3 separate regions of the Homo sapiens genome follow, and all the other regions are linked to region 2. Evidence: promoter capture Hi-C in 16 types of primary human blood cells and fetal thymus (Javierre and others, 2016). All regions are on one chromosome and are shown on one strand. Each heading gives the region's core, a stretch centred on a gene start or on the middle of the fragment in contact. The rest is flanking DNA. Distances are from core to core; before and after follow the strand shown.

Evidence for each region. The method cuts DNA at HindIII sites, captures the fragments that hold promoters and counts their contacts. A CHiCAGO score of 5 or more calls a contact.
Region 1: a fragment that was not itself captured here is called in contact with the fragment with the promoter of OSGIN2 in region 2 in 3 of 17 cell types (M0 macrophages, total CD4 T cells and monocytes); the score reaches 6.7 in M0 macrophages.
Region 3: a contact is called between a fragment that was not itself captured here and the fragment with the promoter of OSGIN2 in region 2, in 16 of 17 cell types (monocytes, M0 macrophages, M1 macrophages and 13 more). The highest score is 20.0, in monocytes.

Annotation. Positions count from the first base shown.
Region 1 is chr8:89,743,269-89,747,630 of GRCh38, reverse strand. The region is part of intron 1 of PARAIL (palmitic acid regulated anti-inflammatory lncRNA); the gene reads left to right. Among named protein-coding and RNA genes, the nearest start is that of PARAIL, 12 kb to the left of the region's middle. The HindIII fragment of the contact is 2,459 bases long and covers 1,459-3,917 here.
Region 2 is chr8:89,900,075-89,904,349 of GRCh38, reverse strand. It overlaps OSGIN2 (oxidative stress induced growth inhibitor family member 2), which reads right to left and starts at 1,780. Exons shown (of 6, transcript NM_001126111.3): 1 at 1,513-1,780. The coding sequence starts at 1,556. It overlaps LOC124901974 (a long non-coding RNA gene), which reads left to right and starts at 1,944. Exons shown (of 2, transcript XR_007061001.1): 1 at 1,944-2,331. It also overlaps the pseudogene RNU6-925P. RefSeq lists silencers at 156-215, 1,209-1,658, 1,689-2,028, 1,778-2,076 and enhancers at 2,370-3,135, 3,136-3,901. The HindIII fragment of the contact is 4,461 bases long and covers 309-4,275 here.
Region 3 is chr8:89,718,676-89,723,148 of GRCh38, reverse strand. PARAIL (palmitic acid regulated anti-inflammatory lncRNA) reads left to right here. Exons shown (of 5, transcript NR_125822.1): 4 at 993-1,134. Among named protein-coding and RNA genes, the nearest start is that of PARAIL, 37 kb to the left of the region's middle. The HindIII fragment of the contact is 3,877 bases long and covers 487-4,363 here.

The sequences.
Region 1 (4,362 bases), core at 1,439-3,938, 160 kb after region 2:
ATTAAATCATGTTTTTAATCCATCCTGCCAATCTAAATCTTTTAAATGGAGTATTTATTCCATTTACACTCAAGGTTAATATTGATATGTGAGGTTTTGTTTCTGTCATATTGTTAACTGTTATCTAGTTCTTTTATAAATTCTTTGTTTCTATCTTTTTCTCTGTTTGTCTTTCTGGTTTGGTGGAGTTCTGTTGTGTTGCTATTTGATTCCTTTCTCCTGCTCCCTTGTGTGATTGTTTTATAAAGTCTGTGAGTTTTATACTTTCATTTCCATGTTTAGGACTCCTTTGAGCAATTCTTGTTTGGCTGGCTAGTGGTGACAAATTCCCTCAGTGTTTGCTTGCCTGTAAAAGGCTTTATTTCTTCTCCATTTATAAAGTTTATTCTGACAGGATATAAAATTCTTGGCTGACATTTTCTTTTAGCTCTTTGAAAATAGCATCTCATTCTCTTTTGGGTTTTAAGGTTTCTGCTGATAAGTCTATTAGTCTGATGGGGATTCCTTTATAGGTGACTAGATGCTTTTCTCTTTCTGATTTTATAATTATTTCTTTCATGGTGCCTTTTCACAGTCTGATTATATGGCATGAAGTCTGTTCTGCAATTGATTTTCTTGACAATCACTGGGGCTTTTGATATCTGAACGTCTAAATCTCTTGCTAGACTAGGGAAGTTTTGTCAATTATTCCCTTATATAGGTTTTCTCAACTTTTTACTTTTTCTTCTTCCTCAGGAATACAAGTGTGATTGATTTATGTGGTCTCATATATCTCAAAGGGCTTGTGCATTCTTTTTTGTCCTTTTTGTTTTTGTCTGGCTTAATGCAAAAGACTTGTGTTCAAGTTCTGAGATTCATTCTTCTGCTTAGTCCAGTCTACTTTTAATGCCTTCAAATTTATTCTGTATTTTCTTCAATGAATTTTTCATTTCCGGAAGTTCTGTTATTTTTTAAGATGTTTATCTTCTCAGTAAATTTCTTGTTTATATCCTGAATTGATTTTCTGATTTCATTGTGTTAGTTTTCAGAACTCTCTTGGATCTCATTGAGCTTCTTTAAAACCAATATTCTAAATGCTTTACCTGGCACTCTGATTTATTTTTGGTTTGGATTCATTAACAGAAAATTACTGTACTCATTTGGGGGTGTCATAATTCCTTGCCTTTTAATGCTTCCTGTACTATTTTGCTGATTTCTGTGCATCTGGAGATATAGTTGCCACTTCGTATTTTTACATTTACTTTTATTGGGGCAGGCCTTTTCTTTTTTTTAGAATGTAACTGTAGTATATGTTGGGTAGCGTCTTTTGGCTTTTCTTCTAGGTGTGTTCAGTGCTAAAGACAGTATTGTTTCCTTGGACATAAATAGTCTTAGTGCGGTGGCTTTCTCAAATGCCAGTTTTAGTAGCAGCAACCTCCTGAGTAGCCAGGGTGGTATAGGCAATGATTGTAAGAAGCTTATCTTGTTCCCAAGTGCTCTATAGTTGTGTAAGCAAATGCTGTAATGGACTGTGCACTCCACCCTCTAGGCCAGTAAGTAGGTGACACTTGCAGGTAAGACCCATCTGCAGTGGTAGCAGTTTACAATAATTGAGGAGGTGAGAATTCTTCCTAACTCATTCTATGAAGCCAGTATCATGCTGATACCAAAAACATATAAGGACACAAGAAAAAGAGAAAACTACAGATAAACATCCCTGATTAACATACATGCAAAAATCCTAGGCAGTGTACTAGCAAGCCAGATCAAACAGCACATCAAAAAGATAGTACAGCATCATCAAGTGGGTTTTATACCACATATACAAGGATGGTTTACCATATGTGAACCAATTAATGGGCTTCATCACATAAACATAATTAAGGAAAAAACATATGATCACCTCAATAGATGCAGAAAAGGCATTTGAAAAAATTCATCCACACTTCATGATAAAAAGCCTCAACCAATTAGGCATAGAAGGAACATACCTCAAAATAATAAAAGCCATGTGTGCCAAACCAATAGCCAATATCATACTGAATGAGGAAAATGTGAAAGCATTCCCTTTAAGAACTAGAAACAAGACAGGGATTCCCACTTTTCGCCACTCATATTCAGCATAATACTGTAAGTCTTAGCCAGTGCAATTAAGCAAAGTAAAGAAATAAAAGGCATCCAAATTGGAAAAGAGAAAGTCAATATATCTCTGTTGATAATATGACCTCATATCTAGAAAACCCTCAAGATTCGATAAAAAACGCTTAGATTTGATAAATGAATTCAGTAAAATTTCAGGATAGAAAAGAAATGTACAAAAATCAGTATGACTTCTATACCCTTATATGATCAAGGTGAGAACCAAATAAAAAAGGCAATTTCAGTTACAATAACTATGAAAAATACAAAATACCTAGGAATATATTTGACCAAAGAAGTGAAAGATCTCTACAAGGAAAACTACAACAGGCTGATGAAATAAATTTTTGATGACACAAACAAATGTAAAAACATCTCATGCCTATAGATCAGAAAGTTACTATAATTAAAATGACCATATTGCCTGATACAGTTTGGCTGTGTCCCCCACCCAAATCTCATCTTGAATTGTACTTCCCATAATTCCCACCAGTCACGGGAGGGACCCAGTGGGAGTTAATTTAATCATGGGGGCAGTTATCTTTATGCTGTTTTCCCGATAGTGAGTGAGTTCTCACAAGATTTGATGGTTTTATAAGGGGCTTTCCCACCTTTGCTCTGCACATTTTGCTGCTGCCATGTGAAGAAGCATGTGTTTGCGTCCCCTTTTGCGAATGATTGTGAGTTTCCTGAGGCCTCCCAAGCCCTGTGGAACTGTGAGTCAATTAAACCTCTTTCCTTCATCAATTAACCAGTCTCAGATATGTCCTTATAGCAGTGCAAGAATGGACTAATACAGTCAATTGGTACTGACAGAGTGAGGTGCTGCTGTAAAAATGTAGATGTGACATTGGAACTAGGTAATAGACAGAGGTTGGAACAGTTTGGAGGGCTCAGAAGAAGATGGGAAAGTTTGGTACTTCCTAGAGACCTGTTGGATGGCTTTGACCAAAATGCTGATAGTGATATGGACAATAAAGTCCAAGCTGAGATGGTCTCAGATGGAGATGAGGAACTTGTTGGGAACTGGAGTAAAGGTCACCCTTGCTATGCAAAGAGACTGGTGGCATTTTGCCCCTGCCCTAGAGATCTGTGGAACTTTGAACTTGAGAGAGATGATTTAGGATATCTGGTGGAAGAAATTTCTAAGCAGCAAAGTGTTCAAGAGGAAGCAGAGCATAAAAGTTTGAAAAACTTGCAGCCTGAAGATGTAGTAGAAAACAAAAACTGATTTTCTGAGGAGAAATTCAAGCTGGTAGCAGAAGTTGGCATAAGTAATGAGGAGCCCAATGCTAATCACCAACAAATGGGGAAAACGTCTCGAGGGCATGTCCGAGACTTCTGTGGCAGCCCCTCTCATCACAGGCTCAGAGGCCTAGGAGGGAAAATGGTTTCCTGGGCCGGGTCCAGCACCCCACTTCTGTGTGCAGTCTCGAGACTTGGTGCCCTGGATCCCAGCTGTTCCAGCCATGGCTAAAGGGGGCCAAGGTACAGCTCTGGCCATGGCTTCAGAGGGTGGAATCCCCAAGCCTTGGCAACTTCCACATGGTGTTGAACTTGTGGGTGCATAGGAGTCAAGAATTGAGGTTTGGGAACCTCTGCCTAGATTTCAGAAGATATATAGAAATGCCTGGATGTCCAGGTAGAAGTTTGGGATTATTTGTTTTCTTGTTACCGAGTAGTTGAGTTCCTTGTATGTTTTGGATATTGGCCCCTTATCTAACATATGATTTGCAAATATCTGTCAATGTATGGGTTGTCTCTTTACTGTTAGTTGTTTCCTCTGCTGTGCAGAAGCTTTTTAATTTGATGTGATCTCATTTGTCTATTTTTGCTTTCATTGCCTGTGCTTTTGGGGTCATATGCAAGAAATCTCTGCCCATTCCAACGTCATGGAGCTTTTCCCCTGTTTTTACTAGTTGTTTTATAGTTTCAAGTCCTAAATTTAAGAATTTAATTAATTTTGAGTTGATTCTTCTATAACTGGTGAAAAAGAGTCCATTTTTATTTTTCTGTATATTGATATCCAGTTCTCCTGATACCATTTAAAGAAGACTGTCCTTTCTACATCGTGCATCTTTTTTGGAAGTTAATTGAACATCGATATTTGGGTGTACTTTTGGGCTGTCTATCTTATTCTGTTGTTTGATGTATCTGTTATGAGTAACATGCTGTTTTAATTATTATAGTTTGTAATATATTTTAAAATTCAGTAATGTAATGCCTCCAGCTTTGCTCCTTTTC
Region 2 (4,275 bases), core at 531-3,030:
CACCCAGTATTAGTCAAAAGAATATGAATCCTACACTGTGCATCAAAAGGTGTCAAATAGCTTTCACACAATATTTTCTGAAAGGCATGTTAGATTCTCATGGGCTTTATTTAGTTTAACAAGTTTCACTAGGGGAACCTATTTCCTAAAAGTTTCCATAGTGAATCTGATACCTTCAAACCGCTGTCTCAGTAGTCAACAAATTTGCCTAAAAGTTAAAATCAAGCAGTTTATTATATGAAACAATTTTTCCTTAATATCCACAACCTAGAGACTCATTCTAAACTCACTGAGAGGTTAGACAAGCTTGGATTATCGCTGTTACAAAAGAAGTTCCAAACTTTCTCTATGCCTTACATCTCTTTTACTATAGGATGACGCTTCTTAACCTCTTCTCTGAATACTGTTCTTAAATATACACAGGATTTACAAGAAAACTAATTCTATTAAAACAGTCATAAAAAGTAAACGCGATATATATATGTGCTTCTCTGTTGCATTCAATAAATTCAGTGATGTGTTACTATAATTTTGAATAAGTATAAACAGTATTTCTATATTAACTGCAATGTGATATAAACATATTTTATGATCTCTACTGATGACAGTCACAGATACTACTGTGATTTGTTGCTTATATTTTAACTGAATATTAGTTTTTAAAATTTAGTGAAATGATATACCTTTCTTTCCATCCAAGTTCATGGGTTACCTAAATTGTATGAAACCCACTATTTAGGAAGGCTTGATCAAAATTTCATATTTTACCAGGGAAGAAGTCTTACATAGAATTATTCTGGAACATCAGTATATGTAAAGCAAGGTACTAAAGTATTCCCTATGCTTAACCATTCTTCACCCCAGGGTTAAAATCAGTTTCTAGTGTCTGGTCTTTCCACCAATGACTGAGGTGTTGACCAAATGTGCTAGATCTAGAAAACATACTTTTATTTTAGAAATGTATTATATTTTATCACCCCTAAAACCTTTCCCCATAAGGTGATTGTAAAACCGCCTCATTCTTTAAATTTCTACAACACACACGTCTTACCATGGCTAACATCTTAACAAGGCAGAATCTATTTGTGATTAGATGACACTGAAATGTAGTTCCCTACCTTCCTTCCACTCATTACATTATTTAGAAGACTTTTTAAGAAATAATTTTTTTTTAGGGAGGCAGGCACTTCGTAGAACCCCCTTCACTAAAACTTTGCACTACTGGGAAGTCTCAGCTCGCCGTAACCGACTCAGTCCGGCCTAGCCGATCCCGCAGTCCCGTGACCCGCGCGGTCCAGAGCGAGAAAAGGGAACAGCGCAGGGCTCCCCGGAGCAAGGACCCCACCACACCGCACCCCACCCCACCCCCACGCCAGGCAGGACGGCCGAGGCGGGAGGACGCTGCGGTCCAGGCGCTCGCCCTCCACCCCGGTCCCGGCCCGGGCCAGGCCAAAAAGCTCGAGAGCGCGGCATCCCCGCCTGCTCCCCTCCCATCCCCGGCGAGGAAGTCACCTGAAATGACCGGCCAGGGAGCAGCGGCAGCACCACACGGGCATGGAGCGCTGCGCGAGGGGCGCCCGAGCGCGGCCGCCGTGGCCGCCTCCGCCTCCCCCGGCGAGGCTGCCCGCTCGGGGCGCCCGCTGGCTCGGGGTCGCGGGGTCTGCCGGGCGCCCCTGCCTCGCGCCTCGCCGTTGCCGCGGCTGCCCCGGCTCTGTGGCGCCGGAGTCCGCCTCCAGATAGCGGCTTCCGCTCCTCGCCTGCAGGGAGCCAGGCGCCGGAGGCGGGTGATCTCGGGGCGCCGCGATAGGGGCGGAGCGGGGCGGGGACGCTGCGACGGCGGCTGCAGCGGCGCGCGGGCCCCTCCTCGCAGGTGCGGCTGCGGCGGGCGAAGTCTGCGATTGGTGGAGCCACGGCCCGGGCGAGGGGCCGGGCCTGATGGAGCCGAGGCTGCGCGGGCAGGGGACCGAGGTCTGCAGGCAAACTGCGCGGCTCGACCGGCGGCAATCGAGACCTAGACCTCGGTCAGCGCCCCGCCGCCCCTCTGCGTGCGACTTGGTGAGGCCGGTGGGTGCGCGTCGAGAGGGCCGAGGGACGAGCGGAAGAGAAGCTGCTGCGAACTCGGGCCACCCAGATGGCCCGGCGGAGTTCCCTGCGTAAGGCGCGGCCTCGGCCACTTCGCCGAGGACCCCGGGAAGGGTCGAGCTTCCCACGCCTGAGAACCCACCTTTGGGCATTTCCTCGCGCTGCCGGGGTGCAGACGCCGGGAGCTTCCGGGTGCCTCTCCCGCTGACCCCCGCATCACAGTTACCTGGAGGACTCACCAAACCACAGGTGCCCGGGACCCGCCCACCACGCTTCTTTTATGGAAGTCCCGCTTCCGGGAAGAGGTCATCCTCCCCTCTTCATGTCTCTCAAACACCCACAAGTGTAGGAATTACCAGCACGCCGGGTGAAAATCCAGGTGCTCATCAGGCCCGCCCCAGACCACACCGGCCAGTGTGGGGAAGGGCAGGAACCCCTGCTGCTTTTTAAGCCCCTGCGGGCGTTTGTGATGCAATAGGGAGTTAGAAAAGTACTCAATAGTGAGTGTCGTTATTCGGTTTGTCAAAAATTAAAGGTGGGGAGGACAAAAATCAGGAGAGATTGATTGCATCTACTTTTCTACGGAAATGTCTAACTCCGCTTCCAAAAAAAGCCGTAATTATTTTTGTGCTTCAAATATACGTTTATGTTTATATCTTTCAACATAATTTTGTAAAACAAATGTTAAGTTTTACTGAATGTTGTCACTGAACAAACTTGTGATGAGCAGGTATTTTAGAGTCTTGGGGTCTTAAAAGAAAATCATAGGACTCAGACTGCCCCAGAGTTATGCAATCTAAGAGTATATTAACCACTTTTAAGTATTATATGTTTTTCTCTTTTTTGAGCTTTTGTCGATTTGACACGTTCATTTCATTTGAATGTTGGTTCTGAAAATGAAGCATGTAGTTACTTTTCCGTTAACATACATAACAGCATTTTAAAGTACCTAAATTCCTTTTGGAAGGCCGAGGCGGACGGATCACCTGAGGTCAGAAGTTCCAGACCAGCCTGACCAACATGGTGAAACCCGTTTCTACTAAAAATACAAAACCTAGCCCCGGGCGTGGTGGCACGCGCCTGTAATCCCAGCTACTCAAGAGCCTGATGCAGGAGAATCGCTTGAAACCGGGAGGCGGAGGTTGCAGTGAGCTGAGATCGCGCCACTGCACTCAGCCTGGGCCAAAGAGTGAGACTCCGTATCAAAAAATAATAATAAAGTACCTGGCCGGGCGCGGTGGCTCACGCTTGTTATCCCAGCACTTTGGGAGGCCGAGACGGGCAGATCACGAGGTCAGGAGATCGAGACCATGGTGAATGGCGTGAACCCGGGAGGCGGAGCTTGCAGTGAGCTAAGATCGCGCCACTGCACTCCAGCCTGGGCGACAGAGCGAGACTCCGTCTCAAAAATAAATAAATAAAGTACCTACATTCCTAAAAGCAGTGCTTAATTCTGCAGCACATATACTAAAATTAGAATAATATAAAGATTAGCATGGCCCCTTCCCAAGGATAACACGCAAATTCGTGAAGCGTTCCGTATTTTTAAATATATACACCTACTATGTAACCAAAAAAATTAAAAATAAACATATAAATTCCTGAAAGCTATGCCAGTCCAATCCAGATAATTCTTTTAATTTTTAATTTTTATTTTTTGTGAGTACATGGTATATATATTTATGGGGTACATGAGATTTTGATACAGGCATACAATAAGTAATAATCACATCAGGGTACATGGAGTATCCATCACCTCAAATATTTATCCTTTCTTTGTGCTACAAACAATCTAATTATACTTAGTTATTTTAAAATGTTCAATGAATTATCGTTGACTAGTCACTCTCGTGCTGTCAAATACTAGATCTAATTCTGTCTATACTTTTGTACCTATTAACCATCCCCACTCTGCCCCTTAATTCCCCACTACCCTGCCCAGCCTTGTAACCATCATTCTATTCTCTGTTAGTTCCGTTGTTTTAATTTTTAGCTCCCACAAATAAGTGAGAACATGCAGAGTTTGTCATTCTGTACCTGGCCTATTTCACTTAAAGTAGTGACATCAGTTGCATCCATTTTGTTGAAAATAACAGGATCTCATTCATTTTTATGGCTGAATGCTACTACGTTGTGTACATAAACCACATTTTCTTTATTTGTCTATTGATGGACACTTAGGTTGTTTCCAAA
Region 3 (4,473 bases), core at 1,176-3,675, 180 kb after region 2:
GCTAATGTTACTTTCCCAATGTTATGTGGGTTAGTAAGTGGTAAAACCTACCAGATTCCCATTCTGTCTGACAAAGTCTAGTCTCTTAGCTACTGTGTGTCGCTGCCTGAGTGTGAAATCTAAAGCAATTTTACAGTAATTTATGTGGCCCCTCAAAACAAACAAATCAACAAAATTAAAAAGTCTCCCTTTATAATAAATGGTACCAGTACATGAAAATACTGGGGATGCCTTTTTCTCAGGGACTTGGCTGATTTGGCATAACCTTATCTCTGAGGGAAAACAAGTTTTGTGACTTGTTCCACTCTGAATTTCAAGAGAGGAATATGTGGAAGGTACTGAGTGCTTTTGACATATAGAGAACAAAGCGATGACTCACTTAAACCCTGATAGTAGGGGCACCATATAAATTATTATATCTAAAGGGAGTCAGGTCAAAGAAGAAATCTTGCAAGAATCTGGAGGGAGATCTGTTGTCTAAAAGCTTATTAGGTGACTAGGGTATCGGTTTTGCTAGTGTTTGTTTTTATCTTGTTTTTTCCCTTCCTCAGTTCCAGCAGGCATTTTAGTGATCTCTTGAAACACGTTTTGACTCTACTTGGTGATTGAAATACACAGCCAGGCTGTGTTGCTTTTATAAGCTCTGAAAGTTTAAGAATTTAGGAAGCTAATGACTGTCTTAAATTACAGTTAAATCTAATTGATAAAATCCTGGGACATTGAACGATTGATTTTAGTATTCAGCTAATAACCCATTTAAAATGAATTCCATACTTCTTTCAACTTGCTTGACTGAAGAGTAATTTTGTCGCTAGTTACTGTATTACTGGAAAATGTATTCCTAGGCTTTAAGATTTGGGAAGCGTGTGAGTCTAACTTCTCAAACAGAATTTGACAAGGACGTAGCAGTGTTTTAAAAAGTCAGGGAAAGGAAAGAGGTGTGTTCAGCATTCCTGCCCCATCTTAACATATTCTTTTTCTCGTCTTAACAGTGGTAATATTTTATGTTATTTTGGTTTGATTTTTGTTTGTGGCATATGGCTCTGCTGTCCTGTGACTCTAAGTAGAAGAGAAAATAGTGCCAATAATTCTTCATGGAGATGCACCTCTCTCAAGTCTTGAACAATGTTTGAGGTAGGTGGTGGCCTAAATGAATGAGCATGTCATGTGTGATTACTTAGTGAGTGTAGTTTTGTAAGGCGCACCAAGGAACTGGTAATTAACTGCTAGGCATGAGATTACCCCAAGATTCTACAAACCCACCTAAGCGTTGTTATATTTGTGAAAAGATTAGAGGAGCTGAACTGTGTATCTTCTTGGTCTCCAGTGGGCAGATACAAGGGGATTGCAGCAAAGATTGGGGAAGTGGCCTCCAAGTATGCATGTGGATGTCCTCTGCTCCTCTGAAACATGACGGATGGCCATTGTCTTTGTTAGAACAAATAAAAAGCAGAAGTATATTTGCCTTTTAGAGAGAGCTCGGTGTTCCTTTTTGCCAAACACAGTACTCTCTCACACCTGCCTTCTGGGGCAGGGATATTTTATTGGACCACAGATATTCTGAGGGGAAAGGAGTTAAAAGTCAGAGCTTGACAAATGCCAGCTCCGGTGCTAATCAGCATTTGTCAAATGCTCTGATTCTAGGCTTTGAAAAGTCTTGAGTTATTAATGAAGTACCCACTATTCACTGAACACTGTGTAAAGTCCCCAAAATGGAAAGAATAATACTTGCTCGTGTCCTTTTGAAGTTCATGTTTATATTGTCTGTTTCCAGGAAAAGTGCTTTCAGCTGGGCTGATGAGAACACCTTGGCACTCTTTCCTGCAATGGGCACTGATTGAGGGTCTTCCTGGTGTGGCATCATCAAATCCCTGTTGCTCAAACCCACTAATTAGCTCATTCTTATCTACAAGTAGCAGGGGCCCTAAAGCTCTCTGAGAAGATCTCATACTGTGTCTCCTACATTTCATCTTCTATAATCTCTTATTCTTAGAGACAGAAAGATGGTTAAAAGACATCACTTCATTTCTTTCTCTGGATTTGGAAAGAGTTATATATTGGGATTATGCTGTTAGTTTACACTTGCATTGTTTAAATTAGAGGAAAGGTTATTTTGTGCAGAACAAATAAAAATTACTCTTTAACTACCTTTCAGAATATCCCAACTTTTAACATAAGCTGTTTTGTAAAGGCTGGTTGTAGTGACTTGCTTCATAATAGACTATTAAAATAAGATGCATTGAAATCTTGTTCTTTTCTTTGCAATACCATGTATCAGCTTTGTTTTGAGAGGCAAACTCAATTTTCCCCTGAAATTAGGAAATTACTGTAAGGGACTGGAATGACACACAAGAAAAGATTACATCATAGCAGGGAGACTAGCCAGTTAGAATGGGGATTTCTTTACAAACACTAGACTGGACTATGGATTATAATTTACCTAGTGTTAATAGTTGCAGTCATACATTAAGGACAATATGTATGTTCTTTAGTTTTTTGTCACTGAGCAGAGGTAGAAACAGGGAAACAACAAAGGCCGAATAATTTCCAGCCATTGCTGCTTTGTTTGCACGGAGCCCTTTGAAATGTGAACTAAGAATATTTCTCAGAAGGTTTTTAGGTGATTCATATACACAGTAAAGTTTCAGAAGTGCTATATTCGAGGGCATATGGAAACCCATGGCTTTTCTGCTAGAGGATTGTCAAAAGTCCAGAATTTCATAACTAAATACCATGAATTTAGTATAGTAGAGCACAGAACTAAAGGCTGTCTTGTGGCTGCAAAGAGTTGACTTCACATAGCATAAACTATAGTCTAAGACAGTGACTTAGACATAAGAGAGAATAGAACTTGGTAACTGGGATTGTTTTACAGCGTGATCATGTATATTTCTATATTATTCTAAAAATATTTATTATATTTATATAAAAATTGTTACAACCGTGTACAAGTGTGCATAAATAAATAGTGTATTTATGTAGTCTTTATTTGAATGTCAGGCCAGTTAGAGAAGCTAGACATGTATAACCAGTTTAGTCTTAACAATCAAGTTCAGAAAATAATATGTAGACTTCCACCTAGTTCCTTTTCTGAATAATATTATAGACTTAAGGAAGCTAATAAGAGTCCAAGATTCTCTGAGTGCCTTTGTGAATTATTTCATCTGATTCATGTATGTACCTTCATATAATGGCTTTTAATATTGAGGAATATTTGGAGATTAAAAGATTAGAGTAATTCTGAGCTCATTAAATTGTAGATTGTCATTTCTTATGAGGATTTACTTTTCTGGTACAACATGTTCTTATCACTAGTTATAATGTATTTTTTTACTTTTGGCTTAGATTTTGAGCCCTCTATTCATGACATATCAAATGTAGTTCTTTAGATATGCTGCTTTCTAATTAGGAAGCAGAATGTGATTGCCTACTATTCTCTAGCCACGTACCTACTAGTGAATATATAAAGGATGGAATTCAGGCCGTGGTTTATGAAATTCAGGCTGTGTTTTTGAGTACTTCCAAGTATGTTTCAAGTAACTTGGTTATGGTTTTGAATGACTAGGAAAATGCTTTGCTTTTTTTGAAAGGGAAATTGTTCAAAAATGAGATTCAATGGAAAACACAGAGGGTGCTAAAAATGCAGAGACATTGTATAAACCTATAAGAAATTTTACATGGAACCAGAATTTTGATGCCCCTTAAAAGGAAACCAATGAGATTCCTTATTCATTAGTACTTTGAAAGTTGGCAGTGGAATGAGGATCTGTGGAGGAAGGGACAGCTGGATCTTGCACTCAGGACTTCTGCCCTCTGCTCCTCAAAGAACTCATTAGTCACTGTTCCCACTCCCACCCTGGCACCAAGGAAAATGTGGATGTTTCCACCTTTCCCACCCAGGCCTATTTAGGGCATACAACCCTTCCTGAATTTCCTGCAGTACAGTTGAGATCACACTGTAGCCTCTAACAAGCATTTACCAGAGATTCAGCGATGACAACAGAGAACTACAATATAATGAGTAACAGATAACCACTCCATAGATGTTGCATGCATTTCCGAGTGTATACAGCCCATTCTCACCTTACAGGAGAACCAGGAAAAGAGAACAATTTGGGAAGGTCTCTTCATTTAATTTTTCCCACACTGCTGCCTCTTCTATCTTTGGCTTGTTTCTTCTTCTCACTTAGGAGGAAGTGGTTCTCAGATAATTGACTAATCACTTCTTCATGGTCGTGAACTCAAGGACTTACCTGTTATGAGGGGAGAAGCATAATAAAGATTACATCATGTGAACTTTTGAAATAAAATGCCCGAAGACATAAGAGAGACCCTTACCACTGTCACACTCAAAAGGAAAGCTTAGTAGCTACAGAGATTTAAAAAGCAAGCAAACAAGCAACCAAGCAAACAACAAAGACCTGAAGAAAATTCCAGAATAATCCTCAACCTGTGCTTTCACATGCTAAATTT